Regions from separate parts of the Homo sapiens genome. Here regions 2, 3, 4 and 5 are each linked to region 1. The links are contacts of gene promoters, found by promoter capture Hi-C in blood cells and fetal thymus (Javierre and others, 2016). All regions are on one chromosome and are shown on one strand. Each heading gives the region's core, a stretch centred on a gene start or on the middle of the fragment in contact. The rest is flanking DNA. Distances are from core to core; before and after follow the strand shown. Region 1 holds the start of TMTC2 (transmembrane O-mannosyltransferase targeting cadherins 2). Region 2 overlaps LOC105369875 (a long non-coding RNA gene). Region 3 has its middle 430 kb from the start of SLC6A15. Region 4 has its middle 450 kb from the start of SLC6A15. Region 5 has its middle 520 kb from the start of SLC6A15.

Region 1 (4,692 bases), core at 587-3,086:
TGCTGAAAAGCTGTCAAAGTAAATCTGTGCTCACTTTTTGGATGGTTTAATTTCAATGGAGCATGAAACACCCCAGGACGGTTAATAAGTTTAGCCAGGCGTGCTGTTATCCCTAATATATTTTAATTATGCATCTGTTTTAATTGTAATCAGATTAAGACACCGGAAGGACACAAATTGGAATTTTCCCTAATGGATATAGGGGCTTTTCATCACTTTCTGAACACTAATAACGTTTAAAAGATAGGAAGAGACACCAACACAACGGTGACATTTTCCAGAAATCGATGCAGTTTCTTTGACAACACAGTTCAGGTCTCATTAGCCACCCAAACTAACCTAAGTGCAGAAGACAACTTCAGTCTCTAGGGGCGTCTTCTTCTCCAATTAGTACAAAAGAACCACTAACATCTAATGTACAACTCCCAAACAGAAATGAGAAAGCCGAGGCTTTTATAAAGTGCTGCCCAATGGATTGGTGAAGGAGGCTAGGGCGGCGGGAGAGACCATCAGCAGCATTATTTTGGCTCAAAGTAAAAGTCTATACACGTTAAAAGGGAAAGTTAAAGCAGAGAACGATCTCCCTTTTCACAATTTTGGCAACTATCAAACGTGTGTTTTAACTTCGGGAAATAAAAGTGTCCCATCAATAAAAGGAAACGGGACAGGGAGGATCTATCAGGGATCGAGGAGAGGCTTCCTCCCAACCAGACGTAAAATCACTTAATGTGCTTTGTTGCATCAAGGAATACCTAAGACTTTAATTTAATACGTTCATTAAACAGTTTCCCAAATTGCCGGGATTTCCGCTAAGAAACTCAAGCGTCTGCCAACAGCCGAGAAGCAAGGGAGAGAACCTGCTGCAAACTAGGAGCGGAAACTCCCTCGGCCCGCCCAGCGCGCCTCACGTCCCCGGTGTTTGATTTAGGTGTTAATGTTTACGTGTCGCCTAAACCATCAGGTGCTGAACCAGTTCCTCCAAGACGCACTTTGAGCCTTAAAGAGGGAAGCTTCAGAGCCACTGCGGAGTGTGCCCCCTGCAGCCCGTCGCCCCCTCCTCTCGGCCCCTTACCTGTCATCATAGCAGAAATCCGCACTCAGGGTGTTGAGATACAAGGCGAGCCCCAGAGCGCTGCTCACCAACTCTGCAATCATCTCTCCACCGCCTTCCCTCCGGCTCGGCTCCCAGCGCGAGGGCAGCAGCGGCAACAAAAAACAGAAGCATCAATCTCCACCTTCCGCCGCCTTCTCCTCCCAGCTTCACTTTTCCCTCGCTTCCCCACCCTCCCTCCCTCGGGTCCTTCCAATCCACGACTCCTCTCCTCCTCCTCGCGCCCGTCTCCGCAGCTCCTGCGTCCTCCCCGGGTGCGGGCTCACACCACACTCCCCATGCCCGGCGCCCGCAAGCGGTGAGCGGCGTTTGGGCTCCGCGTCCCCCGGCGGAAGCGCAGGGCTGGTCTTTCGCGCGGGTCGCGATCCCCACCCTAACCCATGGCAGTTTGGGGCGTCCTAGGTGAGGAGTGGGACTCGGAGGAGGTGGAAGGGTGCGGGATGGGGGCAGAGGGACCGGACCAAGCCGGGCTCTGGGACCAGCTGGAGGAAGAGAGAGAAAGAGGCGCGGGTGGGAGGGACAAGGCGAACCGCCTCCCCTCGCCGCCTCCCGGGCGCACTGCTCCGGTGTCGCTCGGGCGGACTCCGGCCGCCAAGGCAGCTGCTGCACATTCAATGTTTATTAGCTCCCTCCCAGCCCCAGCCCCAGCCCCAGCCCCAGCTCCCTTCTCCAGTGAAGTGAGAAGCGGTGGCTGGAGACTCCAGAAGCTCCCGCGTGGGGTTCTCGACGCGGCCCCCCGCGCCTGCGTGACCAACCCTCCATCCCGGCTTGGCCCAGCCCCTTTCTCCACCCAGATCCTCCCGGAAGGCTCCTCCTACCCTGCCCCTCGGGCTGGAGGCTCCTCCCACCCTCCCCGGCCTGGAGGCTCCTCCTACCAGCCTCCCGTCCTCTTGTTTCTTTCACCTTCGATTTCACTCTGGAAAGCCCCCGGGACCCAAGGGCGACGGCTGGAAGACAGCCCAAAGGAGTAGATACAGTGCACCCTGGGAGGGGAAGCTGGGAGAAAGGAGGTCGAGGAGGAGGTGGTCGGTCGCCCCGCTGCTGCCTGGCAGCGCCTGGCACGGCTGAATCTCAGCCACAGCGCTGTGTGTGCCAAGAGCTGCCAGGCGTAAGTCCGGTCAGCTGGAGAGACTTCTGAGACCGGGAGAGGAAGAACAGGTTTGGCGACTGCTGCAGCTTCGGTTGTCACAAACTCACTGGCGATCTCTCACGCACACTGTGTGTGAGACTAAATGGGGGGGAGGAGGTAGTATTGGAGAGCTTGGAGGCAACTTAGGAAGGAGAGATTTCAGCTCTTAGCCTACGGTTGGCCACAATGTCAGTGGAAAGACGTGTAGGGAGAGAAACGTTTCCTCCTTCAGTAAGGTTAAAAAGAAAGGACCCCAAAAAGGGAAAGAAAGACACACACACACCCCGCAGCAACTGCCCGGGGACCCCTTCGTGGTTTCAGAGGGACTGTCGGGTTGACCCTGAGAACACAGGAGAGAAACCTCTAGTGCAAGCCGGTACAGCATTATACTTAAACCTAGTAAGGCAGTAAGCTAATGCCCTTTCCTTTCCGCTCGGAGGCAGGACTGGATGGAAAGCATCCAACATGGTGAAATATGGTGTAGAATGGTCTGTGTAGAACAAGCTCTGGGTACTAAAGTTGCAAGACCAAAGAGGACCCAGGGCTGCCTGACACGCCTCCTCCCGGCTTGTTGGCTTTCTGGCCAGGAGAGTAGCTCCGGTGCACCGCGATGTACACTACTGCAGCGCCCCCTGCTGCATAGTAACCACAAGGTGTGGAAGACAGGTCTGTTTTGCATGCGGGCCGACTGGTTCCAACCAAGAGCAGCACCTAACCAGCAAGCTCTCCGAAACTGTGGCAAGAAATTGAGCCCCCTGGGTGTCTAGCAGTGGCCTGGAAAGAAAATACCGTGGTCTGGGCTTCTGTAGAACAAAGCTACATATTTCCCTGATTTCACAAGGAAATCTGAGAAATCTGTATTGGATACACACAGATAAAATGATGAATATTTATTAATATTATACCTGTTATGCCATCCACAGTAGCACATTTTTTGTGCCCTGGACAAATATATGTAAACAAAAATAAAAGGAATTATGTCTTTACAGGTAGGGACTGATCTTTTACCCTTTTCCTCCATAACCTTTGCTCACTTGAAAATTTTGAAAATCATATCAGTTAGTCCATCCTGATGCTCTGTGTCTCTCCAATGCACTTACATGCTGAGATATATATAGTATATATAAAATATGTATATGGTGTCCTAGAACACTGAAGGAAGAACACATACTGTGGGATCAGATGTTTAAGTTTGAGTGCATACTCTGCTATTACTATTTGGGCGATCTTTGGCCAGTCGTTCAACCTCTTTGTGACTCTGTTTTCTAATCTATGAAACAGTGATAATAATAGTACTTATCTTATGAGTACTGTTATTATGAGTATTAAAGTAGTTAACCTATGTAAAATATCTAAAAGGGACCAGGAAAGTGCTACAGAAGTATTAGCTAGTATATCATTATTACTATGCTTTCTAGCTTCCTCGTTTCATTTTACTTGTTAACAAAAACCTGGACAGTTACCTCCAAAACACATCCTATCACATCTTTACTACTTGAGTCCACAGCCCAGCTGCCCTCATCTCCTGCATAGACAAATGCAGTAGCCCTCTAAGTGGTCCCCGTACTTCTACCCCTGCAATGCCTCCCTTCCCCAATTTTAACTTTAGGCAGAAGTTTCCTTTGAAAACCTATACATTCCCAATTTTTAAATGTTCCACAACTTCCTGTTGTATTTTTAAATGTCCAACAACTTCCTGTTTTACAGCTAATAAAACTAATTCTTACCATGGCCAGCCAAGCCTTCATTTAGCCCAGACTACCCCTCCCGCTTCATGTTGTGTTCATATGTGTACAACACAGACATCCTTCTCAGGAACTAACCACTTTCTCTTCCTCCTGCATGAGGTTCTTCTCCTCAAACCTTCTCTAGCTCCTTCTCACCATTCAGGTCTTAGCTCAAATGGCATAACCTCAGAAATAAAGTAGGCTCTCCCCCATCAATCTCTATCCAACCACCATGTATTAGTTTCTTCATAGTATGTATTAGTATCTGGAAGCACCACTGAGTGGAAGCTCCATGAGGTCAGGGATCCTGTCAGTCTTCTTTTCCACATAAAACCCAGAGCCTATAACATCTGGACACGGAGAAGAAACTTTAAAAAGATTGTTAATAAATGAACAAAATAAATGTGCTTAGGAGAAACTACGTAACAGCTGGAAAATCCAAAAATTTTCATCGCTGATTTATTGTTTGTCGTTAGTGTTAAAGATCGTGAAGTATTAACCAAGGAGAGAGGAAGGGAGCAGGTTCACAGTTTTTCAGAATACATCAAGTCTGCAGGAATACCCGTGAAGGGGAGTCACATGGACAGGTCTCTTCAGTTATTAAGAGGACTCAGATATGTAAAAATATTAGAGAGCTTTGGGTTCCACATGCTAAAAGCTTGTAAGCCTTTTCCACAGCTGTGTTCATTTTTAAGGCTCCAATAGTTTAATTTAATTTTTAATTT
Region 2 (4,692 bases), core at 1,277-3,776, 1.8 Mb before region 1:
TTAGAAACTGAATACTGGGTTATGGTGGAATTAAGTCCTTATATCAGGCTCTAACAAAAGGGACGGATAGGGACCCACTTCTCTGGGAGAAGAATCAAGAGCAAACCTTTAGGCAGCTAAAAACTGCCGTCTTACAAGCCCTAACCTTTGGGCTACCTATACTAAGCAAACCATTTCAACTGTTTATCACTGAAAGGCAAGGTGTAGCCCTAGGAGGTCTAACTCAAACCATTGGGCCAATCAAATGTCCATAAGGTAATTTTTCAAAGTACCTAGACCAAGTTGCACAGGGGTGTTTGCACAGGGGTGGTCACACAGTCTCAAGGAAGTGGCTGCAGCAGTCCTCCTACTTGGGGAGGCCTTTGAAATCACCATGGGGCAGTCAACCCAGCTCCTAATGTTCCACCAAGTTGGCCCCTTACTGGACAAAAAAGGGCCACAGTGGCTCACTGACAGCAGATTGTTGAAGTACCAGGTTTTGTTATTAAAAAACCTGCAGGTAACAGTTGAGTGGTGCTAGACCCTCAACCCAGCCACCCTCTTGCCCCTACCAAGAGACAATAACCTGGCACATTCATGCTGTGAAGTACTCAGCCAAATTTATGCCAGCAGGGCTGACTTAAAGGACCAACCCTTGGGAAATCCCATCAAAATATGATTTTCAGATGGAAGCAGTTTTGTCTGGAATGGAACTAGACATGCAGGATAATGCTTTGGTGTACCTCTACCAAGTGACCGAAGCTAGAGCTTTATCCCCAGGGACCTCAGTTAACTAGAGCTTAACTCACTATGCTAACCAGAGCCCTAAAACTAGGGGAATGAAAAAGAATAACCATTTATACAGACTCCAAACATGCTTCTTTGATCCTTCCCACCCAGGCAGCTATCTGGAAGGAAAGGGAATATTCCTATTAAGTACAGGCCTCAAATCTTAGAGCTGCTAGAGTCTGTTCATTTGCCCCAGAAGGTGGCAGTAGTGCACTACAAGGGACACCAGAGGGCCACGATGAAACCGCACAAGAAAATAGTTTGGCTGACCAGAAAACTAAAGAAGCAACTGTTCCAAAGTTTACATTTCTGGGAGCCTTGCTCCCTTCTCTCCCCACTGAACTACCCCCACTCCAGTACACCCAGGAAGAAATAGATTTGGACCACCCAACAGGGATATCAAAAAGAAACCAATGGATGGTACAGCCTGGGGGCACTTTTCCATCTGCCAAAGGCCTCCCAGTGGAAGGTCATCCAGAGTCTGCATGACTCCTGCTACTTTGGAAAGGACAGTCTAGGGAAAATTTGTAAGTGGGTGTTTAGCAGGAGGGGACTGAACAAGGCTATTGAGAAGGCTTGTCAGGCTTGCTCCTTGTGTGCCATAAATAATCCCCAGAGAGGGAAGCCTCCTCCATTAATAAGTCCGATCCAAAGAAGAGGTAAATACCCTGGAGATGGGAAGATGGATTTCACTCAGATCCCCACATGCCATAGATATAATTACCTCTTAAACTGTGTAGATAATTTCACATGATGGGTAGAGACCTGTTGCACAAAGACTGAGAAGGCACAGTTAAGTAGCTGAATTCCTCCTCAAGGAACTTATTCCCCGATTTGGCTTCCTAGGTCATTGCAAAATGACAATGGCCCATCCTTAATTCCCCAAATGACTCAACAGGTTAGTAATGCCCTTGGCATGAAATGATACCTTTAGTCTGCCTGGAGACCACAATCTTCAGGAAAGGTGGAAGGAAATAACCAAGCCCTCAAACACATCCTCAATAAACTGTGTCAGGAAACAGCAAGTCATGGGTGGACCTCTGACCTCTAGCCCTCCTTTGAATCCATGTTGCCCCTAAGGCTTCTTTACAATTAAGCCCCTAGTAGGCCTTATATGATAGACCATTCCTATATTCTGACTTATTGCTAGATGAAGAAACTACCAAAGTCACCCAGTATGTCTGTTCTATGGCAGGCTTCCAACAGGCCTCCGGGAATACTGGTTACAAATAAACCCAAAATTGAAAGAGGAAAAAGCTCAGACTTTATACCCTCCAGGCTCACTAGTTCTCATGAAAGGTTGGAAGGATGGAACCCTGAAATCCCAACTAACTGGAAGGTCTGGAAGGTCCCCTTCACTGTTCTATTATCTACTCCCATAGCTATTAAAGTACCAGAGGTTGCCATCCAGATACACTATACTTAAGTGAAGTGAAGCTGAGGTCCAAGACAAGGGACTGAGATTCCTGCAGAGGTGTCACTCTGGAGTTCTCTGGATAGTTGCCGACTCACCCACCAATAATAAGTCTACCTCCCGACTCTCCAAAATTTGTGTCCTTCCCCTGTGCAAAATATATCCATCAATCCCAGTATCTCCAAGATCCTGCATTAACTCTAAGTCTAAAGTCTTATCTAAATATCATCAGTTCAAAGTCCAAAGTCTCATCATCTAAATCATTTAAACCAGTGTGGGTGAGACTTGATGTATGATTCATCCTGGAGCAAAAATCTCCCTTTACCTGTAAACCTGTAACACCAGACAAGTTATCACCTTCTACGTTAAATAGGGAGACAAGCATATAATAAATATCCACATTCCAAAAGGAAGAAATTAGAAGAAATAAAGACATTACAGTCCCTGAACAAGTTCAAACACCAACAGAGCAAATTCTGTCAGATTTCAAGGCCTGAGACTCATCCTCTGTGGCCCCATGCTTTGTCTTCTGGGTCCACTGGGTGACCATTAATCCTTAGCTGTCCTGGACTCCCAGCTGTATCATACATGGCATTCTCCCTGTCCATCTCTGTCTCTGTTTTCAAATTCCGCCCCCCCCTTTTTTTTTTTTTATTAAGGATACTAGTGATATTGGACTAAGACCTTACCCTACTCCAGAATGACCTCATTTTAACTTAACTAATTTCATTTATAACACTTTTCAAATTAGGTCAAATTCTGAGAGAATAGGCGTTAGAATCCCAACATATAATTTTGGAGGGATGAAATTCAACCCATAGTAAATATGTGCATTTCTAAGGCAAAATTACAAAAAAAAAAAATAGCTTGAAAGAAAATATAAAAATACTTTTAGACATTATGGTACACGAAAATTTTCTTAAAAGACCCAAAATCTAAAATAATAAACTATAAACTTGCCTACACTAAAGTTATATACTTCTGCATAAAGCAATTATTTTACCACTTGATGACAAAATCTGCATTCTCAGAAAAGCATATAGAATTTGCACTGCTCAATAAAGTAATAGCAATTTGATTATGTAAAAATAATTACAGCAAAACTCCCACACGTTAACAAAAAGGCAAATTATTTTAAAATGTGGAAATATGAGAACTGAATTCACAGAAGGTGCTGAAAATCACTAGAAATCTGAATACTCAATTTGAACAGGAGCTAACTAATCATTCATTTGATTGACATGAAAATAAAAATACGACACTGTCAGCATGTAAGAATGTGAGATACATGATTTTCTCAGTAATGCTAAGAGGAGAATAAATTGATAAAGTCATCTTGAAAAACAACTTAAGTGTATGTTATAAAAATTATAATGTAAATGTCTCATCCTTTGATTCATTTGTAAGGTTATATTTGTATCGGTTAGCTAGTACCATGACAATGCTATATAAAAAACACCCCAAAACTGAATGGTTCAAAGCAAAACTTATTTATTCTCATGGATCTGTGGGTCAGCTTAACCATGCTTTTAAAAGAGTGTTAGCAAAGCACAGATGACCAAGCAGTAATCATTTGAGGCCACATAAGGTTATGTGCAGAACTAGCACACTGTCACTTCCATCCTCATCATTGACCAAAGCCAACAGAAGTGCACTTAACCCTTTTTTTTTTAATGAGAAAAACTACAAAATTATCTATCAAAGCACACAGACACAAGGAGGAATAGAGAATGTTCACCAATAATTCCTTTGAAAGCAGTGTATTCTCCTGGTCATAATCATAATATTTAAAAACTTAGTAAAACACAGTCATCTCAGGACACCTAATCTAATCACATCAGCAGGCCTGAAGTTTAAGATCCTACAATCTATAACAAGTTTAGATGAGTTCTTCATGATTCAATGATTTATGAATTTAAGAGGAAACATTCTCCCAACATGCAATGGTAGGAAAGGGTAAGTATATTCTCAATAACAACTCAAATTTAGTACATTTGAGATATGTATTAGTCGCTTATCCATTATTCATAAACTTTGTGAAATCCTGTTGGACAAACGATGCTATGTCTTGGTATCTGTGAGGTATAAAATGCATTTTACATGCTGATTCTGCTTCCTGGGTCTAATTCACCATTCCATTATTCTCCGAGGTTCTTTGATCTGCCCTCAGGAACGTATTTCTCTTTTCATAGTTTTCTTTGGCCATTCCTAGAGAATTGTAAAATATGCCTTTTGGTGGATGAACCACTTTTTTCTATTCTTCTTCGTGCCTATAGAAAGTTGAAGACCAAGATAACTTTTCTCATCTTGAACCATCTCAGTCAAAGCATGATTTACATTTCGTTTTTTAAAAGAAACGTAAATCTTGTAAACATTTTTTACATTTCTTTTAAAATTTTCGTGGGCTTTCTACGTATTTGATTTCAGTCAACTTTATTTACCACAATCTATACTCATATTTTTAGATACATTTCTTTCCTTCTAGATATAAGTACAAGTAATGTAGGCAC
Region 3 (4,692 bases), core at 714-3,213, 1.8 Mb before region 1:
GGTACCCAGGACATAATGACTGTGCATAAATTATGTAAGGATTTGTAATGATGGTGTGGTGATGGAAAGTGTGTGATTAAAGTGGAATATAAAATTTAGCACATGTGGAAAATAAGAAAAAGAGAGAAATTGTAGATGAAATGATTCAATCCTGGATGTTTGAGACAATGATGCTACCAAAAATTCAAATGTGGCTAACAAAATAAGATGTGAAGGGAAATGAGTTTTATAATATAAATATGTAGTAGTAGATACTATTTCTTTGCTTAGATGTTGATAAAATTATGTTATCTGATTTAGAAAGAGGAACAAATAGTGGCTTGTTGGATAGTTTTGTATGAAAATTTTGACAATACTTTATTACAGGGAAAAAATTGTTAGACAGTGGTTTAGCATCTTCTAAATAATATAAGAAGATGGCCTCTAAGAGTAAGATGCAAAATATCATAGTAAGAGAAAATGTTGATTTTAACAAAAAATTTAAGAAGGAGAAACTTGGTGTAAAGGACTGGAAGCTGATCTTTGAGCCTGACTGACCATATATTTCTTTAAAATGTCACATTTGCGATTGCAAAACTGAATGCCAATATTCATTCACATTTAAAAAGAATAATATAAAATAACATAATAAAACATGAACATAAAGTGCAAAAATTTGCATGTTATTTGATTATAATTTATATATTTTTAATTAAACATATTTTAATCATATAACTGTTATCTCTTCAATCCTATCAGGCAGATTAATCACAAGCAATTATCTTTATAATATAGTGGTGTAAAGATCAAGGTTTTAGTAACTTCCACAAAAATAGGGAACTTTTATGAAAACATTTTTAAGTTGATCATTAGTTCTGAGCAGAAATAATCCTTCTTTTATAATAATTTTCAAAAAGAAACAGAATGGGATAGAAGTAGCTATGGGCAATATAGCCCATAAGGATTTCTCATCTGCCATAGGTGAAACTTACAAACTTGCATCATAGTATAATACACATTTTGAATGTGACTTTGCGTGAATAAAAAACATCACTGTAGGTACCGTAATCTTTCTCTTCTTAAAGAAAAGGAGCCAAACCCCTTTTTTATGTTCTTTAGTATATGATTTTAAAAATCCCAAAGAAACTGTAACATATAATTCCATATTTGTTAGCTTTTTATTTCTACTGGTAGTATGTATAAACTTAGCTGGTGCAGGTTTCGTAGGTGTAGAAAATATGACATGTTAAATAATACAGTTTATAGAAATGTATGAATTTTTCACATGAGTGTTTATGATCCTAAGAACTCACAGCCTATACACATCCCCAAAATTGCTGTGGCACCCGAAACGTCAGTAGTAGAACTTATGGCTCTATGTTTTTAAATCAGAGGTAATTATTGAGATTGGAGACTTTATCTGTTTAATTCACTTCTCTATTTCTAGGACCTAAAACAATACAATAATATGACAAGTGCGCATTCAACATTTATTAAGTGAATGACTTTTCTAATCACTAAGTAAACTGCATGACAAAACTTAGATCCACATAGGTAATAAGCATTATCATTTTAAAAGTTCTGATCACTAAGCAACACATTAATATGAATCAGAAGTTCACAGTTCAATGAAAATATAGAATGTTGGTCAATATAGAATAAATATTACATCTAGTGGAAAGAAAAATGAATCTGTCTTTAGTAACTCTGGTTTAGAATTTCATGTTTATGGATTTATAGTCAGATTAAAATTGGGAAAGAGAATTTACATAGAAGTTTGAAGAGGAAATTTTATTTTATAGAATTATTAACTAAAAGAGGGAACTGGAGTAATGAGCAATTGACCAGTAAGAAGTAAAGAGAACACTAATGAATATAAAAACTGCAGGTGTAAAGAGCAGCCACTGTCACAAGGAAGCATCCCCAAGTGCTGATACTCAGACCTTGTTAAAAACCTATCCCCACCTCACCAGTATGGCTCACTGAATGTGGGGGGTTTAGGGAAAATATAGATGGTTTTGTTAGGTTTTAGTGATTAGGGAAAGGGATTTCAAGATTGTCATTTGTTTTTCTGTCTTGGACAATTAGTTAATTCTAGCAACTTATTGAGGTAGGAAATAGAATGAGATTGAAGGAAACCAAGTGAGCTCACTTTGTATCTGTTAATTTTGTGAAGCTATTCTTACTTAATTGGAGGTGTCTCTTCTGTTACAGTGAAGTTACCCTCTTTCTGTTGATTGCTAGTTCCTCAATTTCTACCTTGGCACACACTCTCTTAACCATAATTTAGAATTTGGCCTCTAAAATTATTTCTGTTCTTTGCCATGTCACCATATTTTCCACCATTAAGAACATCTTTCATCAGTGAACAAAGTACATAATAGAACCATAAGAAAAATGCCTTGGATTCCACATGCCTGTCCAACTCAAGCTACCACATATTTTTTCCATCCCCAGGAAAAGTTTTCACAACGTTATCCATAAACTTAGACCTACGCTTTTCACCACTTTATACTGTTCTCAAACTATTCAAATTGGGCTTTCTTCTTTCCTCTCAATTGAGAGGATCTTGTTGAGATTTCCTTTCTTCTATTCTCATCTCTTTTCTTTTCTTGCTACACTCTCAACTAAGGTGGACTTATCCAAGATCACTGTTCTAAAAGTCATTTATTTGCTTATAATCATTTGTCATTTCTTTGCATGAGATTTATTATTACCTAATATTTTATTTCAAAATTGCTTGGTTATTTATTTATTGCCTATTTTTTTCTGAGAATGTATTATAAAAGACAAGTAGAAAATATTTTTTATTCTCCATCGCATCCCAGCACTAAAAGATATGAACTAGCACAGAGCAGGTATTCAGTACATTTTTCTAAAAATTAAAAAAAATTATGTATTGCATAACATTTCCAATTTCTTCCCAGTGATATTAAAAGAAAGAACAAATTTCATAGCATGATCTAAAGCCCTATATTGTATAACACATGCCAGTCTCTTTAGCTCATCTCCATATATTGTACCCCATTGAGTACTTCCCACTGGCCTCATTTGTGATGCCGAACACACCAAATGAATTTACACATTAGAATATTTGCTGGGTGTGTTAGTCAGGGTTCTCTAGAAGGACAGGACTAATAGCATAGCTGTATATATGAAGCGGAGTTTATTAAGGAGTACTGACTCACATGATCACAAAGTGAAGTCCCACAATAGGCAGTCTGCAAGCTGAGGAGCAAGGAAGCCAGTCTGAGTCCCAAAACCTCAAAAATAGAGAAGCTGACAGTCCAGCCTTCTGTCTGTGGCCAAAGGCCTGAAATCCCCTAGCAAATCGCTGGTGTAAGTCCAAGAGTCCAAAAGCTGAAGAACTTGGAGTCTGATGTTCAAGGGCAGGAAGCATCCAGCATGGGAGATATATGAAGGCTGGAAGACTCAGTAAGTCTCGTCTTTCCAACTCCTTGCCTGCTTTATTCTAGTCACACTGGCAGCTGATTAGATAGTGCCTACCCAGATTGAGGTGGGGTCTGCTTCTCCCATTCCACTAACTCAAATGTTAATCTCCTTTGCTAGCACCCTCACAGACACACCCAATAACAATACTCTGCATCCTTCAATCCAATCAAGTTGACACTCAATATTAACCATCACACTGGGATTACTATTCTGTTACACCAATGATGGCTGCCTTCTTCTAACGATCAGCTTAAAAATGCCTTGTGTTATTGTCAACAATATCTTAGATCCTCTCTGGCACATATAGAAATTCAACAAATATTATTTGAATAAATTATTGAGTATATGAATTAATTAGACTGCTAAATAAGCAGAGATAGAATAAGTAATGAACTTAAAAAGAAAGTTCTGAGAAAACCAATTTTGGTGGTCCTGGAAACCAAAAAAACAAGTGTTTTTCAATGTGAAGGAAATACTTAACTACTGTGATTGAAAATATATCCAGTGCATTGATTACTACAAAATCTCTATCTTCAACTTTGTCTTCTCTTGTATTTATTTTCTCAGCTGCCTAGTGCACAATTTACACTAAATGTCTAACAGTACACAGTCCATCATATCCAAAATCCACCTCATTAACATCATCAAATCCTCAATTGTATTTTGCCAATATTTGCAAGTTAAGCTTGCCAGGAATAAAACTCTGAGGCAAAGATTTGTGTGCAGGCTGCACCAATGACTTGGAAGAGATGTCCCAAATTTGGATAAGGCGACTCTCTTATGTATACCATTATCATCCATGACAATAAAGAAGTTGCTTTCAGCTGTCAGGTTCAGTTGTGACACTCTAAGCAGAGTTGGAGGAACTAATGCTTCCATCCTAAAAAAAGGGGAGGGTATATGGACAGCACAATTCAGTGTTCATAATTCCTACCTCAACTAGAGAATAAACAAGGTCCAATTCAAGGTGAAAAGTAGCACCTTGAAACAATTTAAATACATATCTTTATGTTTTTATAGGAAAATACTCTAATCAGCATCTAGAGTGGAGAGATTGACCTTTACCATATAGGTATTTAGCTAAGGGCCTCAGAAACTAAAGGGAGAGACTAAATATGCTTTGTAAGAAAATATAAAACATTAATTTTTGTTTTTAAGAAAGAAGGAACAAAGGCCGTTGACTAGATAATTAAATGTTGAGATGACATGGAACTGGAGATCAGATAACATAAAACAGTTTTTGAATATGTCTTACTGGAG
Region 4 (4,692 bases), core at 814-3,313, 1.8 Mb before region 1:
TTTTTCCACATCATGCCAACATAAAAATTTCTTATATGGCTTTCCTAAATATTTATCAAAGAGAAATAAAAGCATATGTTCAATAAAGACCTGTATGAGAATGTTAAATAGTAGCTTAATTTAGAGTACCCCAAATTTGGAAACAAGTAACAGCAGAAGGGATAAACTGCTCATGGAATACCACTCAGCCATATAAGGAATAAGCTACTGACACACTTGTTGCCCCAAGGCATGAGGGTCAGGGATTGAAGTTTTAGGGAGGAACACTGATTAATCTCACAGGTATAATGCTGAGCCCAACCAAAAGAGTTACAGAGTATGATTCTATTTATATAAAATTCAAAAAAATACATATGTTACATATGCTATTTAAAGTCAAAATATAGTTTGCCTTGGGGAGCAGACATTGCCATTAACTAGAAAGAGTCAGGAGGGAACTTTCTGGGATGCTGAAAGTGTTCTTTACTTTGACTGTGGTGGCAATAACTGAGTATATATTCCTCAAGTCTCTTGAAACTGTACAAGTAAGATCTTAACATTTCTTTACATATAAACTATAGCTCTCTATCAAAATAAACACCATTAAAGTAATTGAGGATTGAAGACCCAAAATGTATTAGAAAAATAAGCCAAAAACATAGATGGCCACGGTTGATCCTAAAATAAATGTAAAGTTGCTCAACCTCACTTATAGTAAGATAAATGTAAATTAAAATTACAGTATGTGTTTTTCACCTTTTAGATAGTCAAGTTTCAAAAGCCTGACCACACATTTTGCTAACAAGACTGGAAAAGTAAAAGACAAACTTTCATAGATTTCTGGTGAGCGTGAACAATGGTACAATCCTTATGGAGGAATTTTGGAAAAATTTTATGAAACTACATTTGCTTTTAGTCATTGGTCTAGCAATTTTGCTTCTAGGAATTTTATCCTAAAAATAAACATACACTAAGGAAAATAACCACAATAAAAACATAGGCACACATTTATTTATAGGAGCAATTTTCCTATAAATATCCTGAAAATCATCTGGAAAGATACATAGGTTATTGACTGGAAAAATAGTTACATTTATGCATTGGAACATTATGCAGCTATAAAGAATTAAGAAAAATATTTGTGAACTGATATAAAGAGCTTTTCAGGCTATACTATTAAGTTAAAAAATAGGGTAAGACAGCTTATATGATATGCTTTTTATTAAAAATGAAAATGAAACTATATTTTAAAGTAGTTGTTTATACAAAAACAATAGGCTTTGGAAACTAATAAAAATACAAGAGGTGAATTGGAAGTGTTAAATATGTGGATACACTTTTTTTGAATATATTTTTCCAATGATTTTGAATTTAGAACCATTTTATTATCTTATACATCAAAACATTAAGCTAAATTTGTTTATTACAGTAAGAAGTAAATAAACATTAACATTCTTGTGAACAATTGCTCATATTCTGGTGAAAAGATAAAAATGTGGAGTGGGAAAAAGAGAGGAAGAGTGATATTGAATTATGATTTGATTTGGACTTAAAGGCATTGAAGTGAAGTCATTATAAAAAGGCATGAAAACAGACACCTTATCAGCAATGAGCAATATTTGAGGCAAATCTAGATACTACTACCTACTTAAACTAATAGTGCTTGTAGTAGAAATGACTGGTTTCAGGTCTGGGACAGTGAAATTTGAAAGTTAACTGGAATATTTTATTGTCCAAGAAAGTGAGAAAATTCTCCCTACTAGTGGAGATCTGTCAAAAAGACAACATTGGAGTCAGATTAAACAGCTCAACTGGACAAATATGATTATCAAAATGAATAATGACTAAAATGAAATCTAAATCTAATATATTGATTTCAAAATAGAAAAAATATGCAAGTCCATACTTTTGCTAAATTAAAATAACAACTAAAAAGTAAGAGAAGAACAAAAGAAAAGCTTTCCTTATAAAAGAATGCTGCTCAGAAAGCTGTGGACTTCATTTCTCTAAAAATTCAGGGCCTATTTTATAGAAGACATCCATAGACTTCACACAAATAAATTTAAAAATAAGTATGATGGAATATTCTTATTTGAAACTTCCTATTTGTTGATGAGCATTCATAATGAGCTATTATTTGAAATGTTCATAAAGAATAGTGGCATAGGCTCATTTGGAAATTGGTATAATTGCAAGTCACAAAAGCTTTTGCAAATGTAAGTAGGACGATGTGTACCTACTTTAAATTTTATGAGCAAAGCTAATTATTTTAAATATGCATAACATCATGAATGATGGATTGTCAAATATACTTTAGAAAATGCAAAGATTAAAATACTAACCTATGCCTCCTTAAAAAAAAATATTGTCTTTCTACTACCATTATAATAAAATTCAAACCTCTTGGCAGATCCTATGAGACCCTGCCTAACTGGCCCTTCCCACTTCTACTTTCTTACTTTGCTCTGTTCACGTCAGCCCTCTGTCATATTAAAAAACCTATCATGCTCTTACCTTCATCAAAATCTACTTGCCTTTTGACCCCACTTGTGATGTTTTTCCTCTAGATCTTCTCATGACCATTTTTATTCCCGTTAGTTTTGGTTCACAAATTATATTTTCCTGACCACTCATGCTCAGTTTTTTTATTCTCTCTCATTAAACTATTATTCCTTCAGATACATTTTTAAAATCTGCCAATATTTACTTTTGTTTTGTTCCTTTGTTTAGCATTATTTATTCCACTAAACTGTGATCTCTATTCTACTTAGAGAATGTTCTGGTCACCATTATTCCCCCAAGGGCCTTAGTATGGTGTGTAGCACATATTGAGAGTATCAGATATAGAATTTTAACATACAATAGGCTGGGCGCAGTGGCTCATACCTCTAATCCCAGCACTGTGGGAGGCCGAGGTGGTTGGATTACCTGACGTTAGGAGTTCAAGACCAGCCTGACCAACCTGGTGAAACCCTGTCTCTACTAAAAGTACAAAAATTAGCAGACGTGGTGGTGGGCGATTCTAATCCCAGATACTCGGGAGGCTGAGGCAGGAGAATCGCTTGAACCCAGAAGGTGGAGGTTTCAGTGAGCTGAGATCGTGCCACTGCACTCCAACCTGGATGAGGGAGAGAGACTTCACCTAATAAATAAATAAATAACATACAATAATGACTCAATGTTAGTTACTATTATTAATGACTCATAATTCAGAATAAATAATTGCTTTATTCTTTAAAGACATTTTATTTAATAAACAAAGCTTGATTTAATTATCTGTATATTAAGTTTAGGAATATGGTTGGTGCTACAGTAATTACAAGGATTAATGTGCAGCAGACAGTTACATCTTGAATCTATATTGCACGTCTGGAAGATCACGGTGAGCTACCAAAACTTTGTTTGTATGAAGAATGTAGAAACATCTTATGGGAAGAGATGGGATAGTGAAATTGGCATTAAATAAGAAACCAACTGCACATGCCTAGTAAAATATTGCCTTAGTAGACAGAAGGAAGGAATTCTGAATAAACTCCCTCAATGGTCAGCTTCCTTTCTTAAGAAGGAAAAAGTTTGTTGTTTCTCATTAAAAGTTGCCCTTAGCTCAGTCCAATGAACTCATATCTGAATTCTGGGAAGAGAAAGACAGGTGCAATAAGTTAAAAATGATGCAACTGTTTTTAGACAAACTTCTGTGAGATGTTGGGATCAGAATGTAGCATTATCTTGGGAATAACACAGAAAAGAATGGTATCAAGATTAAGTAAGTTATTAATAGACATAGTCTCCTTGCTTCAGCCCAATGCTGCCTAAGTTAGAGAAGGGATTGGCAGGTGGATGGCCCCAAACCAAATGTCTGTCTGGGTAACAGTTATCCTGACCCTCAGAGGAAGATGAGAGCTTCAAGCTGTCCTCTTACAGCACTTATTAGATAACTCCCTGAGCTCTAAAAGGTGAGAAGGAAGACTTCCTGAGGAACTAGTATTTGTAATTGTGGGTGGAAAAAGAAAAAATTTGTTTATCACCATGTGACTCAATTTTTACTTCCAGGTCATTATGACCCAAGGGTGCGCATAGCTTCTTGTTTCACGGAATTCACAGACAAATTCATCTACTAGTGTATTGTATAATATTTTGAGGCCAAAAATGTATATGTTTTTGAAGAGCTCTCAAACATTCATACAATAGGTATTAGCCTTACAACTTTCTTTAACTGAGTGTTTATAGAAACTAAATTTGAATAGAAAGCATGACAAATAAGGTATAACCAGAAAAGTTAAAAGATAAACCGTCTCTAACAAGCGAGTGGAGATGTACTTTGGAGAAGAAAAATTTTGAAAAGGACTCAAATAAGAGACGTTGTAGAATATTATCATTTCTCCAAAAAAAAAAAAAAATAGACTATTGGCTTACTGAAGTCCTCGTAGCTGCCAGAATTTTTACTAGGAAGTAAAAAGAAACATTTTCTTATATAAGCACTTCACCAGTGAAGATCAGCAAAGAACACTTAGAAACTTCCCGACTTTTAGTTTGAAAAGAGATTAAAGAAAATAGCACAATGCTGAAAACATGCATTATTTAAAAAATGTGTTATGGTTTTGATAACACCTATTTTATTATTTTGACTTCCATCTGATTGGTTAGTTTTCTATCCAAAAAAATTCTAAAGTTGCCTCAGTGATTTGTGCTTTAAGAACTTTCAACATGCAGGGG
Region 5 (4,692 bases), core at 746-3,245, 1.7 Mb before region 1:
GGAGTGCAATGGTGCAATCTCAGCTCACAGCAACCTCTGCTGCCCGGGTTCAAGAGATTCTCCTGCTTCAGCCTCCTGAGTAGCTGGGATTACAGGCACGAGCCACCACGCTGGGCTGATTTTTGTATTTTTAGTAGAGACAGGGTTTCAGCATCTTGGCTAGGCTGGTCTTGAACTCCTGACCTCGTGATCCACCTGTCTTGGCCTCCCAAAGGGCTGGGATTACAGGTATGCATCACTGCGCCTGGCCTGGCACAGTTTTTAATGAGATTATTTGTTCGTTATTTGTTGGATACTCTAAGTTCTTTATAGGTTCTGAATATTAGACCTCTGTGTGATGCATAGATTGTGAATATTTTCTCTGATCCTTTAGGTTGTATCTTTACTCTATTGATGGTTATTTTTGCTGTGCAGAAGCTGTTTAGTTTAATTAGATCTTACTTGTTAATTTTTGTTTTTGATTCAATTGCGTTTGAGGACTTAGTCATAAACCCTTTCCCAAGGCCGATGTCCAGAATAGTGTTTCCTAGGTTTTCTTCAAGAATTCTAATAGTTTGAGGCCTTGCATTTAAATCTTTAATCCATGGTGAGTTAATTTTTTGTATATGGTGGAAGGTAGGAGTCCAGTTTCCTTCTTCTATATATCACTGGCCAGCTATCCAAGCACCATTTATTTAATAGGGAATCCTTTCTCCATTGCTTATTTTTGTTGACATTGCTGAATATCAGAATGGCTGTAGGTTTGAAGCTTTTTTTCTGGGTTCTGTATTGTGTTCCATTCGTCTATGTGTTAGTTTTTGTATCACTACCATGCTGTTTTGGTTACTATAGCCTTATAGTGTAGTTTGAATTTGGCCTTTGGGTTTGGCTTTGTTCTTTTTGCTTAATATTGCTTTGGCTTTCCAGTTGTTTTTCTGTTCCATGTGAATTTTAGTTGGAATTTTAGTTCCATGTGAACTTTTTTTTTTCAATTCTGCAAAAAATTACATTGTTAGTTTGATAGGAATCGCACTGAATCTGTAGGATGCTTTGGACAATATGGCCATGTTAATGATATCAATTCTTCTGAGCCATAAACGTGGAATGTTTTTCCATTGGTTTGTCATATATGATTTATGCTGTATGCTTAGGTTTTTTCATTTGTTTGTTCGTTTGTTTGTTTGTTTGTTTTTTGGTGGCCAGTGTAAACGGGATTATATTCTGGATTTGGTTCTCAGCTTGAATGTTATTGGTGTATAGAAATGGTACTGATTTTTGTGCATTGACTTTGTATTCTGAAACTTTACTGAAATAAAAATATTATATTTTAGTATGATCACTTTGATATCACTCTATGAAGTAAAGGGAATAGACAGATTGGAGGGAAACAATTGACTCCAAGTTCAGAGAGAGACATGTGGAAGGTCTGAGCTAAGGTAGTTATGTGGTGAGAAAGACTTACATGCTTTAAAATTTAAGAAGCATAATTAAGGTGACTTAAGGACTGTTAAGTTACGAGAGGTCAGAAAATGAAAGTGTGAGATTTGGACTTTGTTTCTTGTTTAATTTTTGTGGATGCTGGTTATGTTCCCTAAAATAGGGAAGGCAGAAATTTTGATACTTTTTATTGGGGTTAGAGATGGAATAGGAGTACTTTACATTTGAGGACTCTGAATATCTGAGGATGGTTAGAAGGCAATTTCATATACCAGTTTGGGAGGTAAGACGGAGAAATGAGTTGTTATATACATTTTGAAGATATTTATATTGAGAGAGTACCAGAAACGACTGAAATTAATTAGGTGATCCAGCAAAATTGCAAAGAAAGGGAAGGAGAATGGACAAAAACATGTTAGAGTACAATAGTATTTAAAATGGTCATAAAAGCAGAACTAGTGAATATTGTCATGCTAAATATATATCTAACCACAAAATAAACCACACTAAGACAATATTCTGTAGTAGGTTTTGTTTGTCCAGTTTTGGACAATCTGGAAACTAGTCTCTGTGTCTAGATAATGATTTACAGCAGCATTATCAGCCATTATTGTGTATCATAATAACTTACAGAGCTTTGAAGAGATACACATTCTTGGACCTCATCTCTGGAAACTTTTAATCAGAAGATTTTTGATACACAGCCAGGTTTGCAAATCACAATTTTATACTTACCAAGGCAATTTCACATGGAGTTAAAAATTACAGCTTTAACTTATAATGACTTATATTGTACTATAAATATATATACTGCCATTTCATTATTTTAATCTTTTTACATGAATTATTTATAATTAAGTGTCCCAAGTATTTACATGTTGCTTCTGAAATCCAATTCAAACATTTTATACTTATGATAAACTTAAAAAAGAAACTTCTAAGAAATACATTTTATTTTCTTTCTGTTTTGATTTAATACTTTTAAATGTTTAATGCTTTATAGCTCAAGGTAAATACTTAATATTTCAGGGTGAATATTAGAGAAAGAAAAAGAGAGAGAAAGATATGTAAATATATAGGAAAATTGGATTACCATTCTTTATGCATATGTTTCATATTATATGTTAGTTATACTCAAGGGGCATTTTTTATTCAGAAATCCACTAGGTGGCATTATAAACTATAATGTTTTAATAATGCATTGATTAAACACTTAATAAAATTGTGTTATAAAGCACCTGTTCATAATTTCTTTCAAATAATCTCAACTACATTTTCTACCTTTATGTTAGATAGCAATAATTGAAGGCTTTTGTTAAAATTAGGACTTATCAAAACTTTTATTGAAAATCTATAAATTTGCTGGAATATGTATACAATACTGAAGAACGCAGTTTAGGGAACATTCTTATAATGTTATATCCTTATTCTCCCGAGATACATTTAAATTCTCATAGGCTTTATATTTCAAAATCCCACCTGTTTTTAATGAATATTATCTGAAAAAGGAAAAAAAAAACAATGAAAATAGCTTAGATAGCAAAATGTTGAGAACATTTATTAATGAAATTTGGCATGTTTAACTTGAGGCTAATCTGATCCAGGAATTTTTTTTCTCATTTCTACTTAAAATTGTTAGACATTCAGACTCTGTCTGCTAAAAACCATAATATTAAACTTTTGAGTCACCTGAGGAGTCATTTTAATCAGACATCCAATTGAAATAATTTCTTGTTCCTTATATAATTGAATTTTGGTTTAGGATTTTCATAGAAAAATTAGTTGTGTAATGCTCTCTCAATGTGGGTAATGAATGTGAAGCTTGTTGGAAATTACTAGAAAAAGAGAGGAGAGAACCTTTGGAAGACAGACTAAATATAAAGTGGATAGAAAAGTAGGAATCTATATTTGTGAAATATGGCCTTTCAAAAAATAATGAAAGCTGTGGAAGTACACTTCTGTGACTTGAAATTTCATTTCTGCATCTCTGAGGGAGGCGGGAATTGAAAAGAGAAGGACAAATCAAGTGCCAGCTACATTTGCTGGCAAGAATTTCATGTAAAAAGAGCTGAATTGAAATCAGCTAGTGTATTGGGGAAGTGGTTTTAGAAATGCCACAAGGTATATACAAAAATGTTTTACTTAGTTATACCAAACTATGTAATTTATGAATGCTACTTAATTTTTTCTTGTTTCATATGGTCAGGAAATTTTTACATATTGATTAAGGAAAAGAGTAGAAGGCTGATATTAATCATATGTTTAAAGCAATGCCTTCATGGAGTAAAATTAATTAACGTACTCCCAGTTTAATAGTACTCTTCTGTACCCAAGCATAACATGCAAAATTTTAAAAGAGTATTGGGATGTGTGGATGAATAATAGATAATAATATTTGTTTTGCTAAGAAATGTGATAGAAGAGAGAGATGATAATTGGGTAAACATGGTTTAAAAATAAGTAGTAGTATACTCAGGAGATTTACTTAATGGTATAAAATAGGAAATGCCATGCATTTGTGTTCCTCAATGATGGAGTAAATCCATTTCAATTCAGATAAAATATAAATGTTAATGAAAATATGCTGAAAGGGAGCAAAAGGAAACAGAGGGTAAAAATGAAACTGCAAAGACAATTTGAAGAAAATTAAACATAGAAAAGAAAAATATTGCACTATCAAGTGAACAGAAGGACAGAAATCACTCCCTCAAAAAGAAAAAGAATCACAAAATAAGAAATGAATGCATTTTCCCATATGTATTAGCTAGAATATAAATCTGGTTTTTAGGTATATATTTAAGACACAGCAGTTTCTGCAACTAAATTTCTTTATGAACACCATCACAGCCACCTGATCTGCTCTTCCATCAGTGCCTCTGTCTTGGCTAACTGATACAGTTCATATGCTCAGCCCAAAACACTTGATTTATTCCTTAACTACGTTTTTTCCACACCACACATTTACTCTGCCTGTAATGCTAGATTTCGTCTTCAAGTTATATTTATAATTCAGTCACATTGAGAGGTGAAGCCAGCTAAGCTTCTGGGTCAGGTGGGGACTTGGAGAACTTTTGTATCTAGCTAAAGGATTGTAAACACACCAATCAGCACTCTTTAAAATGGGTCAATCGGCAGGATGTGGGTGGGGCCAAAGGAGGGAATAAAAGCTGGCAACCCGAGCCAGCAGCGGCAACCTGCTCAGGTCCCCTTCCATGCTGTGGAAGCTTTGTTCTTTCACTCTTCACAATAAATCTTGCTGCTACTCACTCTTTGGGT

What was found. The method cuts DNA at HindIII sites, captures the fragments that hold promoters and counts their contacts. A CHiCAGO score of 5 or more calls a contact.
Region 2: a fragment that was not itself captured here is called in contact with the fragment with the promoter of TMTC2 in region 1 in 4 of 17 cell types (endothelial precursors, naive B cells, total B cells and 1 more); the score reaches 12.3 in endothelial precursors.
Region 3: a fragment that was not itself captured here is called in contact with the fragment with the promoter of TMTC2 in region 1 in 1 of 17 cell types (naive B cells); the score reaches 6.6 in naive B cells.
Region 4: a contact is called between a fragment that was not itself captured here and the fragment with the promoter of TMTC2 in region 1, in 1 of 17 cell types (endothelial precursors). The highest score is 5.5, in endothelial precursors.
Region 5: a fragment that was not itself captured here is called in contact with the fragment with the promoter of TMTC2 in region 1 in 2 of 17 cell types (endothelial precursors and erythroblasts); the score reaches 22.6 in endothelial precursors.

The regions. Positions count from the first base shown.
Region 1 is chr12:82,684,050-82,688,741 of GRCh38, reverse strand. It overlaps TMTC2 (transmembrane O-mannosyltransferase targeting cadherins 2), which reads right to left and starts at 1,836. Exons shown (of 12, transcript NM_152588.3): 1 at 1,073-1,836. The coding sequence starts at 1,155. RefSeq lists silencers at 816-875, 1,236-1,285, 1,856-1,955, 2,806-2,885 and enhancers at 1,996-2,205, 2,226-2,375. The HindIII fragment of the contact is 3,615 bases long and covers 1,013-4,627 here.
Region 2 is chr12:84,499,643-84,504,334 of GRCh38, reverse strand. The region is part of intron 1 of LOC105369875 (a long non-coding RNA gene); the gene reads left to right. Among named protein-coding and RNA genes, the nearest start is that of SLC6A15, 410 kb to the left of the region's middle. The HindIII fragment of the contact is 7,736 bases long and covers 1-4,692 here.
Region 3 is chr12:84,482,615-84,487,306 of GRCh38, reverse strand. No RefSeq gene overlaps it. Among named protein-coding and RNA genes, the nearest start is that of SLC6A15, 430 kb to the left of the region's middle. The HindIII fragment of the contact is 4,313 bases long and covers 1-4,119 here.
Region 4 is chr12:84,464,550-84,469,241 of GRCh38, reverse strand. No RefSeq gene overlaps it. Among named protein-coding and RNA genes, the nearest start is that of SLC6A15, 450 kb to the left of the region's middle. The HindIII fragment of the contact is 247 bases long and covers 1,940-2,186 here.
Region 5 is chr12:84,395,391-84,400,082 of GRCh38, reverse strand. No RefSeq gene overlaps it. Among named protein-coding and RNA genes, the nearest start is that of SLC6A15, 520 kb to the left of the region's middle. The HindIII fragment of the contact is 2,489 bases long and covers 751-3,239 here.